Regions from separate parts of the Homo sapiens genome. Here region 1 is linked to region 2. The links are contacts of gene promoters, found by promoter capture Hi-C in blood cells and fetal thymus (Javierre and others, 2016). All regions are on one chromosome and are shown on one strand. Each heading gives the region's core, a stretch centred on a gene start or on the middle of the fragment in contact. The rest is flanking DNA. Distances are from core to core; before and after follow the strand shown.

Region 1 (7,391 bases), core at 4,069-6,568, 170 kb after region 2:
CTTAGCTACTCAGGAGGCTCAGGCAGGAGAATTGCTTGAAGCCAGGAGGCGGAGCTTGCAGTGAGCCGAGATCGCGCCACTGCACTCCAGCCTGGGCGACAGAGCAAGGCTCCATCTCAAAAAAATAAAACTGTCGGCCAGGCGCGGTGGGAGGCCGAGATGGGCAGATCACCTGAGGTCAGGAGTTTGAGACCAGCCTGGCCAACACAGCAAAACCCCGTCTCTACTAAAAATACAATCAATCAATCAATAGCTGGGCGTGGTAGCGCACACCTGTAGTCTCAATTACTTGGGAGGCTGAGGCAGAATTGCTTGAACTCCGGAGGCACAGATTGCAGTGAGCTGAGACGGCACCACTGCACTCCAGCCTGGGCGACACAGCGAGGCTGTCTCAAAAAAACAAAACAACCAACCAGTCAGGAAAGAAAGTGATGGGGGTGGGGGTTGCCATTTTAAACCGAGTGAAAGGTGAGAGAGTCTTCCCTGGGGACGTCTGGAAAAAGACTGTTCTGGAAGGAGGGACAGTCTGTGCCACGCCAGGGGAGCACAGTGTGTTTGGTTGGTTCAGGAAACAGCAAGGAGGCCCCGGGGGCTGTGGTGGAGTGAGGAGGAGTAGATGAGGTCAGAGAGGGGAGAGGCGTGCAGCCTGAGAGGGGATTGCTGGCCACTGCAAGTGCGTGGGCTTGTACTCCAAGGCCGATGGAGGGCTCTGACAGATGAGTGACATCATGTGGGGTGCACCCCCAAATGTTTTACTAATCAGACATGCACAATTAATGTTTGCAGGCTGGAGGGCTGCAGAATAAACTCCACAACAAGCCCACTGTTTCCTCACTGAGGCTCGCAGTTGGAAGAGGCAGCCTGTGAGCCGTCTTCGAAGTTAAGTACCAGCCTGGCAACACAGTGAGACCTTGTCTCTGCAAGTAATTTTTAAAAGATTAGCCGGGCAAGGTGGCACATGCCTGTGGTCCCAGCCCGAGCGGTGGAGGCTGCAGTGAACTGTGATTGTGCCACTACACTCCAGCATGAGTTACATAGCGAGACCTCATCTCAAAAAAAAAAAAAGCAGAACTTCAACAAGGAGAGATGGGACATACCAGGCTAATCGCCATTCCTACACTACCCCGTAATTGGACCAAAAGATCTACTTAGTAAACTGAGGGATCCAGCACTACGGTATGGTGCAATACCCAGTATCACACTCCTGTTTTCATTGAGCATTTGTCTACAACTCCTAATTCTTACTACTTTTTTGCAAGATGCTTTAAAGTATGTTTGTCACCCCCATGCAAATTTCAGCTATGCCTCACAGCTCAATTCATAAAATTAAACAGATACCGCAGTTTGCCAGATGAGGTCACCCAGCCCCACACCAGCAAGGCCAAGGTTAGGACTCACAGACCACAGCTCTCGCACTTGTTTCTGCACCTCTGCCAGCCTGGCATGTAAGGAGTCCCCACAGGAAAGACATCTGACTGGTCATAACGCTTTTATTTTACATATATTCCACTTATCACAAGGGTGGCTGAGGGAAGGGCAGAGCGTGCTAAAAGCCCCAAGTCCTCCCAGCCTCATGTGGCTTTGATTCAGCTCTGTACACGTGTGTTTGGATTAAGGTGGACAGTTCTGCTGTGCTCACTGCCTTGCCTTAAGATGTGTTCTAGAGGGGCACTGCCTAATACAGGAGCTCAAAGTCACACGGGGCTATTAAGCACCTGGAATGTAGCCACTGTGAATTGAAAAGTGCTGTAAGTATAAAATACACACCAGATTTCAGACTTAGCACAAAAATGTAAACTATCTCAATAATTTTCTATTATTGAAATATTTTGAATATTTTTGGGTTAAATAAAATATATTGCTAAAATTAATTTCACCTGCTTCTTTGTAATTTTTTTTTTTTTTTTTTTTTTTTTTTTTTGAGATGAGGTCTCACTCTGTCGCCCAGGCTGGAGTTGCAGTGACGCCTTCAAAGTTCACTGTATCATTGGCCGGGCGTGGTGGCTCATGCCTATAATCCCAGCACTCTGGGAGGCTGAGGCATGCAGATCACCTGAGGTCAGGAGTTCAATACCAGCCTGGCCAACATGGTGAAACTCTATCTCTACAAAAAAAATACAAAAATTAGCTGGGCGTTGTGGCACGTGCCTGTAAGTCCAGTTACTCAGGAGGCTGAGGCAGGAGAATCACTTGAACTCGAGAGGCGGAGGTTGCAGTGAGCCAAGATCATGCCACTGCACTCCAGCCTGGGCAGCAGAGTGAGATTCCATCTCAAAAAAAAAAAAAAAAAAATTTCACTGCAGCCTCCAACTCCTGGACTCAAGCAATCCTCCCACCTCAGCCTCCCAAGTAGCTGGAACTATAGGCACGCACAACCACACCTGGCTAATTCTTTGTACTTTTTAATGACTGAAAGAAAATGTAAAATTACATTATCTGGCTCATGTTACATTTCTATTGGACAATGGTGCTGTAGAGTATTCCAATAGCTTCCATTTACTGAGCAACTACAAATTTGCTAAGCACTGTGCTAGGAACCTTACATACTACTTTATTTAACCCTAACATCCCTAAAAGTAGATATGACCCCATTTAATAGCAGGAGCAGAAAACTGATGCTCAGAAAGGCTATGGAGCTTGTCTGAGGAAACACTATTAGAAAGGAGGAAAATCAGGATTTTAGACCCAGATCAGTAACCCTAAAACCCTTGCCCTAAGGCCCACCACACCACATGGCCTGTATTCCAGGGAAAACCGAAGTATGACCATGCACATTCTTTCCTTCAGCTCAGCAGTATTATGTGGGGGCCATCCTGAATCAATGACCTATGAATGGTTTGAGTGTAGGCTTACTTTATAGAGCATCATTAATTTAGTTTTTCTCAAAGGAAATCTCATGAAGGTGAATGCAAAGAAAAAGTAGTACCAAACATACCAGAGATGAGACTGGCACTGACTGAATCAGAGATCCCTCCCAGAAACAGGCCAATAGGCAGGTGACTTGCAGCAACAGTGTGGGTGGCACAGGGCCACCTGGAGTCCATAATATCTTTTCCTGTATTCTAGTTCAGGCACACAAATAAGGCCATAAAGTTTAAGTCAACATTTTTAAGATTTTGATCAGAACCAGCCTAGAATTAACACCTGGTGTTCCTAGACTTTCTCGGGGGGGGGTACTTTTCACCTTGAAAATCACTAACAGGTGCTGGCTCAAGATGGTAATCTGAGCATATTTGTTTAATTCCCTCTTGCAAACTCCCATTTGAACTGACAAAAGGAATATAATGAGGAAGCTTGCGGTACGAGTACTAGAAGAGGAAGGAGGAAGGTAGCTATCTCCAAAACAAAATGTGTGGGTGAGTGAAATGGACCCACAGCAAAAGCCCATTAACATCCCCACGCACAGATCAGCGAGGGCTGGAAGAACTACAGCCACCTAGGAAGAGAGGCTAGATGGTCAGTTTCTGCTCATCAGCAGCCTCCTTACTTTTAGCCTTTAATGCTACAAGAGAGGGGGCAATTAGAAAACTCTATAGTCTTTTCATTTTGCCAGTCAAGGTCTATTTGCCTGCAGGGAGCAGGGCAACAGCTGCTCACACTCCCATGCTAAATAAAGCAGGGCCCAGCTAGTGCTCTGGCAACCTGAAGAGGATAACCAGGCCAATTAGGAAAGGGGCACTGGCCCAGCCAGCTTCATGCTGCCACAAAAGAAAGAAATTCTTTGGGCATGGCTGCCTGAGTCTCTCAAAGATGAACCCTGATCTTGTAAAGTAAACCTTCACTATGCTGGGCGCGGTGGCTCAGGCCTGTAATCCCTGCACTTTAGGAGGCCAAGGTGGGCGGATCCCCAGGTCAGGAAATCGAGACCATCCTGACTAATACAGTGAAACCCCGTCTCTACTAAAAATACAAAAAAATTAGCCGGGTGTGGTGGCACGTGCCTGTAGTCCCAGCTACTTGGGAGGCTGAGGCAGGATAATGGCGTGAACCCGGGAGGTGGAACTTGCAGTGAGCCAAGATGGCGCCACTGCACTCCAGCCTGGGCGACAGAGCAAGACTCCATCTAAAAATAAAATAAAATAAAAAAATTTTAAAAAGTAAACCTTCACTAAATCTAAATGTTTCCCTTCTCCCTTTGGGTGTGCTTTTTAAGATCTGAACAGGCACCCACATAATTTGAAGAAAACTGTTTCCAACTACCCAAGCTAGAAAAATAATCCTCCCTAAGCAACAGAACATACTGTGGCAGCCACGAAAATACGCCTCTCAGATCTCCTGCTGTGGGGAGCATCACTCAGTGATGCTCTGGGGCCACCGGGTTCACACTCAGGCCACACTTTCTGGGGACTCTTTATAGCCAACGTGCACAGTACAGGTACTAAGGCAGGCCCATTCTGGCAAGATGCCAACTCCTCCAAAAGGCAACTTTGGCTTGAAGACTCTCCATCAACTTAGCTATATTACAGAAATCATCTGAAGAACAGAGAGAAGCGTTTGGTGGAAAAAAAAAAAAAAAAAGACAGAGACTCGGAGACTGAGACCGAAGCTTAGTATATTTATAACTGAAGTCCCAGGAAAGAGAAAACATGGGTCAGGAAAAAGATCTGAGGAAATAATGGCTGACACTTTCCTATATTTGATTAAATGGCATAAATTTAGAGAGCCAAGAAATTCATCAAACTCCCAAGATAAATACATAGAAAACCACACCTGAAAGCTGCCAAAGAGAAAGACGCATTCTATAAAGGGAAAAACTATTTGAATACCCACTGATTTGTCATCAGAAACAATGAAGGCCAGAAGACAGTGGAACAAGATCTGTAAAGAGATTCTTTTTATTTTTTGAGACAGGGTCTCACTCTGTCACCCAGGCTGGGGTGCAGTGGCATGATCTTGGCTCATTGCAACCTCCGCCTCCTGGGTTCAAGCAATTCTCATGCCTAAGCCTCTCAAGTAGCTGGGATTACAGGCACGCACTGCCACACCTGGCTCATTTTTTTGTATTTTTAGTAGAGACAGCATTTCATCATGAAGGCCAGACTGGTCTTGAACTCCTGACCTCAAATGATCTGCCCGCCTCAGCCTCCCAAAGTGCTGGGATTACAGGCCTGAGCCACTGCACCTAGCGAAGAGATTCTTTTTAAAAAAGAGAAAACTGGCCAGGCACGGTGGTAATCCCAGCACTTTGGGAGGCCGAGGTGGGTGGTTCACAAGGTCAGGAGTTGAGACCAGCCTGACCAACATGGAGAAACCCCATCTCTACTAAAAATACAAAATGAGCCAGGTGTGGTGGCACATGTCTGTAATCCCAGTTACTTGGGAGGCTGAGGTAGGAGAATTGCTTGAACCCAGGAGATGGTGGATGCAGTGAGCCGAGATTGTGTCATTGCACTCCAGCCTGGGCAATGAGAGCGAAACTCCATCTCAAAAAAAAAAAAAAAAAGGGAAAAAGAAAAAGAAAACTAATTTGTTGCCAGGAGACACAAAAAATGCTATAGAAAGTTCTTCCGTCTTAAGGGAAAGGCTATTAGATCTTTAAGAAGAAATGAAGAATATTAGAAATGGTAAATATGTGAATAAATACAAAAGATTTTATTTTTTCCTCTTAATTTCTTTAAAATACATATCATTATTTAAAGCAGAAATTGTAACTTATGACAGGACTTACAATATTTAAATATGTAGATTTAATATGTATGACAACTACAGCATAAAAGACAGGTATGATAAATGGATGTACATACTTACAAGATTTCTACATTTTATGTGAAGTGGCACATCAACTCTAGGTAGACTGAAAAATTAAGAATGTATATTGTAATCACTAGAACATCCAACTTAAAAAAATTATTAAAACAGTATAGCTAAAGAGCCAATAAATTAAAATACAATTATAAAATAATCTTATCTAAACAGGAAACATGTAAATTAGAAACCTATTAATAATTACATTTAATGTTAAACTTATTAAAAGATACAGAGAGAACAGATAAAAATGCAAGTCTCAAGTATATGTTGTTTAAAGAAACTACTTTAAATAGGCACAGAAGCACAAAGTAAATTAATAGAAAGAGGTATACTGTGCAAACACTAAGCTTAAGAAGGCTGCAGTGGCTATATTCACATAAGATAAAGTAGATTTCAAACCCAAATTACCAGAGACAGAGGGAAATTTCATAATGATAAAATGGTCAATACATTAGGAAGACATAAGTTATTAGAGCTTCATACAAAAACTGGTAGAATTTAAGAAATAGACAATTCCACAATCATAATTGAAGATTTTAACATCCTTTCTCAGCACCTGATAGAAATAAACAAAAGGATCAGTAAAGACATAGAAGATCTGAACAATACTATCAACCACTTAATCTCATCGATATTACAAAACATATTAACCCAACAATTCAAATTACATATTGTTTTTCTTAGAGACATGGTCTCACTATACATTGCCCAGGCTGGTCTCGAAATGATCCTCCCACCTCAGCCTCTCAAATTACAGATTACAGCTGTAATCTCAGCATGTAATCTCATGCTGGATTACAGGCATGAGCCACCACACCTGGCCTAAAATACGCATTCTTTTAAACTGTGTATGGTACACTCACCATGACAGACAACATATTGGGTCATAAAACGAGTCTCAATAAAACTAAGAGGATTGAAATCATAAAGAGGATATTTTCTGACCTCAATGGAATTAAAGTAGAAATCAGCAACAAGAAGATATTAAGAGGAAAAAAAACAAATGTTTGCTGATCAGACAACCCACTTCTGATAATCCATGGGTCAAAGAAGAACTGAGGGAGGAAATTAGAAAATAATCAGAGGCTGGGCATGGTGGCTCACACCTGTAATCCCAGCACTTTGGGAGGCCAAAGTGGGTGGATCACCTGAGGTCAGGAGTTCGAGACCAGCCTGGCCAATGTGGTGAAACCCCATCTCTACTAAAAATACAAAAATCAGCCAGGTATGGTGGCTGGAGCCTGTAATCCCAGCTACTGAGGAGGCTGAGGCAGGAGAATCGCTTGAACCCAGGAGGCAGAGGTTGCAGTGAGCTGAGATCGTACCATTGCACTCTAGCCTGGGCAACAAAAGCGAAATTCCATCTCAAAAAGAAAAAAAAAAGAAAATTAGAACTGAATAATAAAAATACGACATAATAAAATTGTAAAGTCGCAACTAAAGTAATGCTTAAAAGAAAATGTATAGCTTTAAATATGTATTTTAAATAACGTCTAAGATCAATGACCTAAGGCTTATCTTAAGGAACTAAAGAAAAAAGATCAAAGGAGACTCAAGCTAAATAGAAGAAAGAAAATAACAGAAATTAATTATATAAACAATTGAGAAAAATAAAACCAAAGGTTGGTTCTTTAAAAGTTATA
Region 2 (6,733 bases), core at 3,574-6,073:
CTTTTATATTTTAACTCCCTTGTTTTGCTGGATTATATCCTCTAGTAAGTACCCAAGACAAGGTGCATGAGAAGTAAAAACGTTTTTAGTCCCTGAATGTCTGAAAATACCTTTAATTTGTCCCCACATTTTATTATAGAATTGTTAGAAATACTTTTCCCATAGACATTTCAAGGCCTTGCTGCACTACTTTATGACAGCCAGTGTTGCTCTTGAGAAGTCTGATGATCTTTGTGTTGACCTTTTTGAAAATCTTTCCCTCTCTCTAGAAGCTGTTAGGATCTTCCCTTTTTCTTTAGCATTCTGAAATTTCACAATATGTCTCATTGGTACGGGTTTTCTAACTTTTGAGCGTGCCTTTTTGATCTGGAGCTACTTGTCCTTTGGTTTGGGAAGTATTATTGGATTATTTCTTTAATTATTTCTTTTGTTTGGTGTTCTCTTCCTCTCTCATATAACTCATATTAGTCTGGGTGCTTCCTGGATTGGTCATCTGATTTTCTTTTCCTTCCCCTACCCACTGCCGCCCGACTGTCCATCTCTTTAATTTGTGTTCTGTTTTTCTGGGAGAATTCTCAATTCTATCTCCTGACTTTTCTGTTAGAATTTTTATTTCAAGAAGTATTATCTAATTCTCTGAATGTTCCTTTTTTTCAAATTGTCCCTTTTTCATAGATAGAATTCTTCTCATATCTTCAAGGGCATTGTGATTTCTTTGAAGATTTTTCTGCTTTTTGCCTTGTCTCTGTTGCCTGTGAGCAATTTTTCTCTATTTTGGGCTTTGCCTTTCATGTCACAGGCTTTGCCCAAGTGTTTGGTGATCCTTCAGTATTTAGAAATGAGACACTAAAACATCAATTGAAAGTTCTGTGTGTGGTGGGTAGTAAACTGATTGGCCTCAATGGCAGGTGATCAAATAGGGAGTCAGCTGTTTTGTTATGGGGCCTCTGAATGTCATTAGCTGTAGATAATGGTAATTAATGGCAGTAAACTTACAGTAAAGTTGCAAAACTCCCATACATGTCTTACCCAGACACTAATTGTTAACACTTTGCTGCATTTGCTTTCTAATTCAATATCTCTGTGTGTGTGTGTATATATATACACACACATATATACACACACATATACACACACACATATACACACACACATATATATACATACACACATATATACACACACACACATATAGTTCCTATATATGTGTACACACTGAAACATTTTAAATTTCAAACATGATTCCTTAAATATTAGGTTGGTGCAAAAGTAATTGTGGTTTTTGCCATTGAAAGTAATGGCAAAACCGCAAATACCTTTGCACCAACTGAATACTTCAGTGTACATTTTTTTAAGATCAGTGACGTTCACTTAAGAAACAATTCAGTTTTCAAACTCAAGATATTTAACATTAATATAATCTATTATTGAATCTACAGAACTCCTTCAAATTTCCCCAATTGTCCCAACAATATTCTTTATATAAATTTTTTTTCTGGGCCAGGATCCAATCTAGAACAGAGAGCACTGCAATGAGGTTTCGCAGCTCTTTTGTCCCCCTTAATCAGGAAGAGCTTCTCAGTCTTTCCATATCTTTCATTACATTGCCCTTTTTTCACACTGACATTTTTGAAAAGTGCAAGCCAGCTATTTTGTAGATTTTTTTTTTTTTTTTCGAGATGGAGTTTCGCTCTTGCTGCCCAGGCTGGAGTGTGCAATGGTGTGATCTCTGCTCACCACAACCTCTGCTTCCTGGGTTCAAGTGATTCTCCTGTCTCAGCCCCCCAAGTAGCTGGGATTACAGGCATGCACCACCATGCTGGGTTAATTTTGTATTTTTAGTAGAGACGGGGTTTCTCCATGTTGTTCAGGCTGGTCTCAAACTCCTGACCTCAGGTGATCCACCTGCCTCGGCCTCCCAAAGTGCTGGGATTACAGGCCTGAGCCACCGCACCCAGCCTGTAGAATGTTAATGTCGGGTTTGTGCAATGTTTCCTCATGATTCTATCCATATTGTGCATTTTTGGCAGAAACAATGTTGTTTCCTTTTTGTTGAATCAGGAATTGATCTACAATTTTTATCCAAGATTGCCTCCCACACATTATTTCATTCTACCTGATGTACCTGGAAACTCTCCAGATGTTTATGCAGAACAACAGCCTTGCTCTGATTTTTTACACAATATAATTTATTCTAAAGAGCACACTGTACCCATTCTTTTGCCCCGTAAACCTTTCAATGGCTTTTAGCCAAAAGCAGTGAAAATCTGTCTAAATTTTGCCCTGCTGAGTTGGACTCTGATGCATTTGTTTCTACACTGCCCATATGTAGACTGTACTTAGAAATATCTTGCACTATTTTAGATTTCGCAGCCCAACGCTGGATGGATGATTAACCAAGTAGGAGGGTATTAGGATACAAGAGGTTGCCATTTTAATGCAGTTTTTGAAAAACAACAGCTTTGGCCACACCTGGTGGCTCACGCCTGTAATCCCAGTACTTTGGGAGGCCAGGGCAGGCAAATCACTTGAGGTCAGGAGTTTGAGACCCACCTGGCCAACATGGTGAAACCCCATCTCTACTAAAAATACAAAAATTAGCTGGGTGTGGTGGCAAGTGCCTGTAATTCCAGCGGCTTGGGAGGCTGAGGCACGAGGATCACTTGAACCTGGGAGGCGGAGGTTGCAGTGAGCCGAGATTGTGCCATTGCGCTCCAACCTGGGCAACAGAGTGAGACTGTATCTCAAAAACAAACAAATAAATAAATAAAATAACAACTGTATTGAGACATAATTCACATACCCATAAAACTCACCCTTTAAGAGTGTAAAATTTCACGGGTTTTGGTATATTTACAGACTTGTAGTGATGTAACCATCACCAATATCTAATTTTAGAAGAGTTTTGATGCAGGGCAGCTGAGACCCCAGATTGGGTCTCAGCCCAGCAGGGTTTTTAGCTTTGTCCAGGAAAGAATTCAAGAGAGAGCCCGTGGTGTGAGACAGCAACTTTTATGGAGGTGGCGGTGTCCAGCAGCAGCAGAGGGGGCCTGCTCCTGCAGTGCAGGGCTGCCCCACAGGCAGTGTGCTGAGAGCAGCAGCTCTGGGCGATTCTGCAGTCATGTTGATACCCACTTTTAGTTACATGCAGATTAAGGGGCAGTTTATGCAGACATTTCTAGGAAAAGGGTAGTAACTTTTGGGTCCTCGGGTCATTGCCATGGAAGGGGGGTGATAACTCCAGGGGCGTGCCCTGGTAAACTGACATGGCACACTGATATGATGGGCATATCTTATGCTCATCTTCCACCCAGTCCCTGTTTTAGCTAGTCCTCAATTTGGTCCTCAATCTGGTGTCCAAGCCCCACCTCTGGCGTTAAGTCCTGACTCCTACCTGTTTCACCATCACTGCAGTTTTAAGAGTAACGAATTTGGGTCCCCTGGTGAAGTGGCCAGAGGCAGAGCTTCTGTGTGAACTATTTGGAGGGGAGGGGAAAGAACTCTCCCAGACTGCAGGTTCTGAAAGGAATACAGAGATGTCAGAGACTGCAGTTGCAAGAGAAAGCTTTTATAGGAGGGTGTAGAATTAAAGGACAAGAGGACTCTACATGTGGATGGAGGAGGGCACCCTGTCCGGCAGTACTGCAAGAGCAAAAGTTTGGAGGTGGGAGTGAGGTGAGTGCGTCTGCCGGCCAGAATTCTTGGGCCAGGGTGAGCAGAAAGGTTGGAGGCCAAGGGAAGGTGGGTGGTGGTGAACCTTATCCTGAAGTGTGCAAGGTGACAGTCAGAAGCTTAGAACTCCAGCCACGGGCCCTGCATGTGGCCTCCTAGCTGTAGTCTGTCCACCGAGATCGTGAGGATGCTGGTGGTTGAAAGAACTGCACCTCTGAGCAGGTGAAGAGAGAAGCTAAGGAGGGGTGATGGCAGAGGCGATGGGACAGGCTTTCTAACGATGAGGGGCTGGGGATCAACGCTCTCACGGAAGCTAAAAGAGCCCCAGCAACCACCCGCCTGGGCCCTGAGCTCTCTCCAAAGCGGGAGGGGATTCACTAAGAGGTTGCTCCCCTGGCATTGAACTCAGCATCCTATACTGGTCCTCACCATGAAGACCCCCAAGAGTGCTTCAGACCATTGCTTCTCACATTCTCTGTATAAAGACACTAATTTGTTTTTAGATTTCCAAGCATGTCACGGACCAATATGTTTGTTAAATATACTAAGAATGAATTGCTAGAAAGATGAAATTAAAAAGACATACACCGCCAGGTGCAGTGGCTCACGCCCATAATCTCACCACTTTGGGAGGCGGAGGTAGGTGCATCGCTTGAGCCCAGGAGTTCAAGATCAGCCTAGGCAACAAAGTGAGACCCCCGTATCTACAAAACTTAAAAAATTAGCCAGGTGTGGTGGCGCAGTCTGTAGTCCCAGCTATTCTGGAGGCCGAAGTGGGAGGATCGCTTGAGGCTGCAGTGAGCCGAGATCGCACCACTGCACTCCAGCCTGGGTGATAGAGTGAGACTCTGTCTCCAAAAAAAAAAAGGACATACATCATGCAAGTTTGGATTTTTGTTTTTAGATTCAACTGACGAAGTTACGGGATCAAACTGCTGTAGGAGCTGCCAAACGCTTCTCTCCATTTCTGGCCGCGGGGCCGCGGACCGCCCTTTAAGTAGCCCGTTTTATCCCTGGCAGAGGTGGAGCCTTAGGCAGGCCTAGAGACTTTCCCGGGTCCTCCAGGCCGGGGAACGCCCCGCTCGGAGGCCGGGCTTGGGCGGAGACTGCGCCGGGGCTGCTGAAAACTAGCCGAGGAGAGCCAGGGAGCCGGAGAGATCGCGCGCCTGCCGCCGCCGGAGCCTGCGAGCCGAGACCGTAAGCGCCCGGGGCCGGCCGGGCCCGCACTCCCCGGACGCAGACGCGGTTCGGGCTCCGCGCGGGCTCGGCCGCCGGGGTGGGCGGCGGGCCGGGGCGCCGAGGGGTCGGGGCTGCGGTCGGCCCGCAGGGGTGCAGAGGGACTTGTAGTTGGTCCGCCCCCAGCTCCTGCCCCGGCCAGGAGACTGCGCGTGCCGCCTACTGGGGGAAGGAGCCTGCAGGCGACCGCGGACTTCTCGCAGGGAATTCCGCGTCCCAGACTGTGGGCGGACGCCGCAGGGAGGGAGGCTCGCGACCCCGAGAGCGCACCGCGTCCCCTGGCCTGGGCGAGCTCTGCTTCCAGGGCCGTGGCTCGCTCGGCGGTGAAATGCACTTAATTTGTCACCCAAGTCGGAACACTGATTTTCATGCGCGTCCGTGTGAAGAGACCACCAAACAGGCTTTGTGTGAGCAACATGGCTGTTTATTTCACCTGGGTGCAGGCGGGCTGAGTCCGAAAAGAGTCAGCCAAGGGAGATAGGGGTGGGGCCGTTTTATAGGATTTGGGTAGGTAAAGGAAAATTACAGTCAAAGGGGGGTTCTCTGGCGGGCAGAGTGGGGGGGGTCACAAGGTGCTCAGTAGGGGAGCTTTTGAGCCAGGATGAGCCAGGAGAAGGAATTTCACAAGACAATGTCATCAGTTAAGGCAGGAACAGGTCATTTTCACTTTTGTGGTGGAATGACATCAGTTAAGGCAGGAACCGGCCATCTGGATGTGTAGGTGCAGGCCACAGGGGATATGATGGCTTAGCTTCGGCTCAGAGGCCTGACACTGATCACACCTTTTAGTTGAAATGCGCTTTCATCTCCATCTGCTGCCGCAGCCGCCGCCCGGCACCCCCTCGCTCTGGTCTCGGGATTGAAGGCCAGCCCTCTCCTCTTGTAGAACAGGAAACTTGCCCGGGAGTTCACCTTGTAGTTGAAGCCAGGGAATGTGGTCAACCTGAGCAAAAGCGCCGCGGAGACCGAGTGGCCGCCTGCCTCCCTCCCTGGCAGATGTCGGTTTTCTCTGAGCTTCTGGCTCCTTCCTTGCCCTGGCGGCTCCCGAGATCTTGGAGGTGGGGTGCCTAGCAATGTTGTAATCCTAATTTTGACTTTTTTTTCTTAAAGTTGAATGCCCCCTCCATAGCCCACCTCCCATTGTTTAAACTTCAGGTTCCGCAAAGCCTGGATCCGCCCCTACAGGCAACACTCGTTGTCCTGGAAGTTCTGTGAGGGCTCAGCTTGTGGCTGGAGGTGGGAGGTGAGGGGGACCCATGCACTTGGCAGGCCCGCTTCCAGGACAGCCCTTTGCTGGGATTGATGAGCTGTTGGTGGAAAATTGTTGAGGACCTTGGGGTTGGTGGCTGTTTCGGTACCACTGTGCAGCCTCCTCTGCATCCAGCATAATTTAAAATAAACATTTTCAGGAAGCCACACTTCTCCAGAAAGTAACATTGTTTTCTGGTGTAACGGTTGCCTCCTTCAGGGAGCTAGGTTTGGGGGATAATAGGGGGCCTTTCACTGGCCCCACTTGGTCTGACTTAGCAGCAAAAACTCTGCGAGTGCTCTCCAAGCAGTTTTTCTTTCCCAAATTTCCACACCTAGGAGGCGCTGAGGAGGCATGGGCGGTACTTAGGAACTGCTCACTGTGGAACTGAGGCACAGCGGGGAGCATGCCCTCGTGGGATTTGCAGTTCTAGGGGCAGAGGGATAATAAACAAAATACATTTGTAAACTATAAAGTATGTTAGAAGATGATGTGTAATATGGAGATAAATAAAACTTTAAAGAGGGGAGAGGAGTGCCAGGTGGAAAGGGAAGGCCTCACTGAAGGGTGGCACTG

What was found. The method cuts DNA at HindIII sites, captures the fragments that hold promoters and counts their contacts. A CHiCAGO score of 5 or more calls a contact.
Region 1: a contact is called between a fragment that was not itself captured here and the fragment with the promoter of EPHX1 in region 2, in 1 of 17 cell types (erythroblasts). The highest score is 5.1, in erythroblasts.

The regions. Positions count from the first base shown.
Region 1 is chr1:225,977,133-225,984,523 of GRCh38, forward strand. SDE2 (spliceosome associated SDE2) reads right to left here. Exons shown (of 7, transcript NM_152608.4): 7 at 5,570-7,391. Among named protein-coding and RNA genes, the nearest start is that of SDE2, 19 kb to the right of the region's middle. The HindIII fragment of the contact is 1,549 bases long and covers 4,545-6,093 here.
Region 2 is chr1:225,805,301-225,812,033 of GRCh38, forward strand. It overlaps EPHX1 (epoxide hydrolase 1), which reads left to right and starts at 4,824. Exons shown (of 9, transcript NM_001136018.4): 1 at 4,824-4,869. RefSeq lists a silencer at 4,782-5,001. The HindIII fragment of the contact is 4,776 bases long and covers 3,790-6,733 here.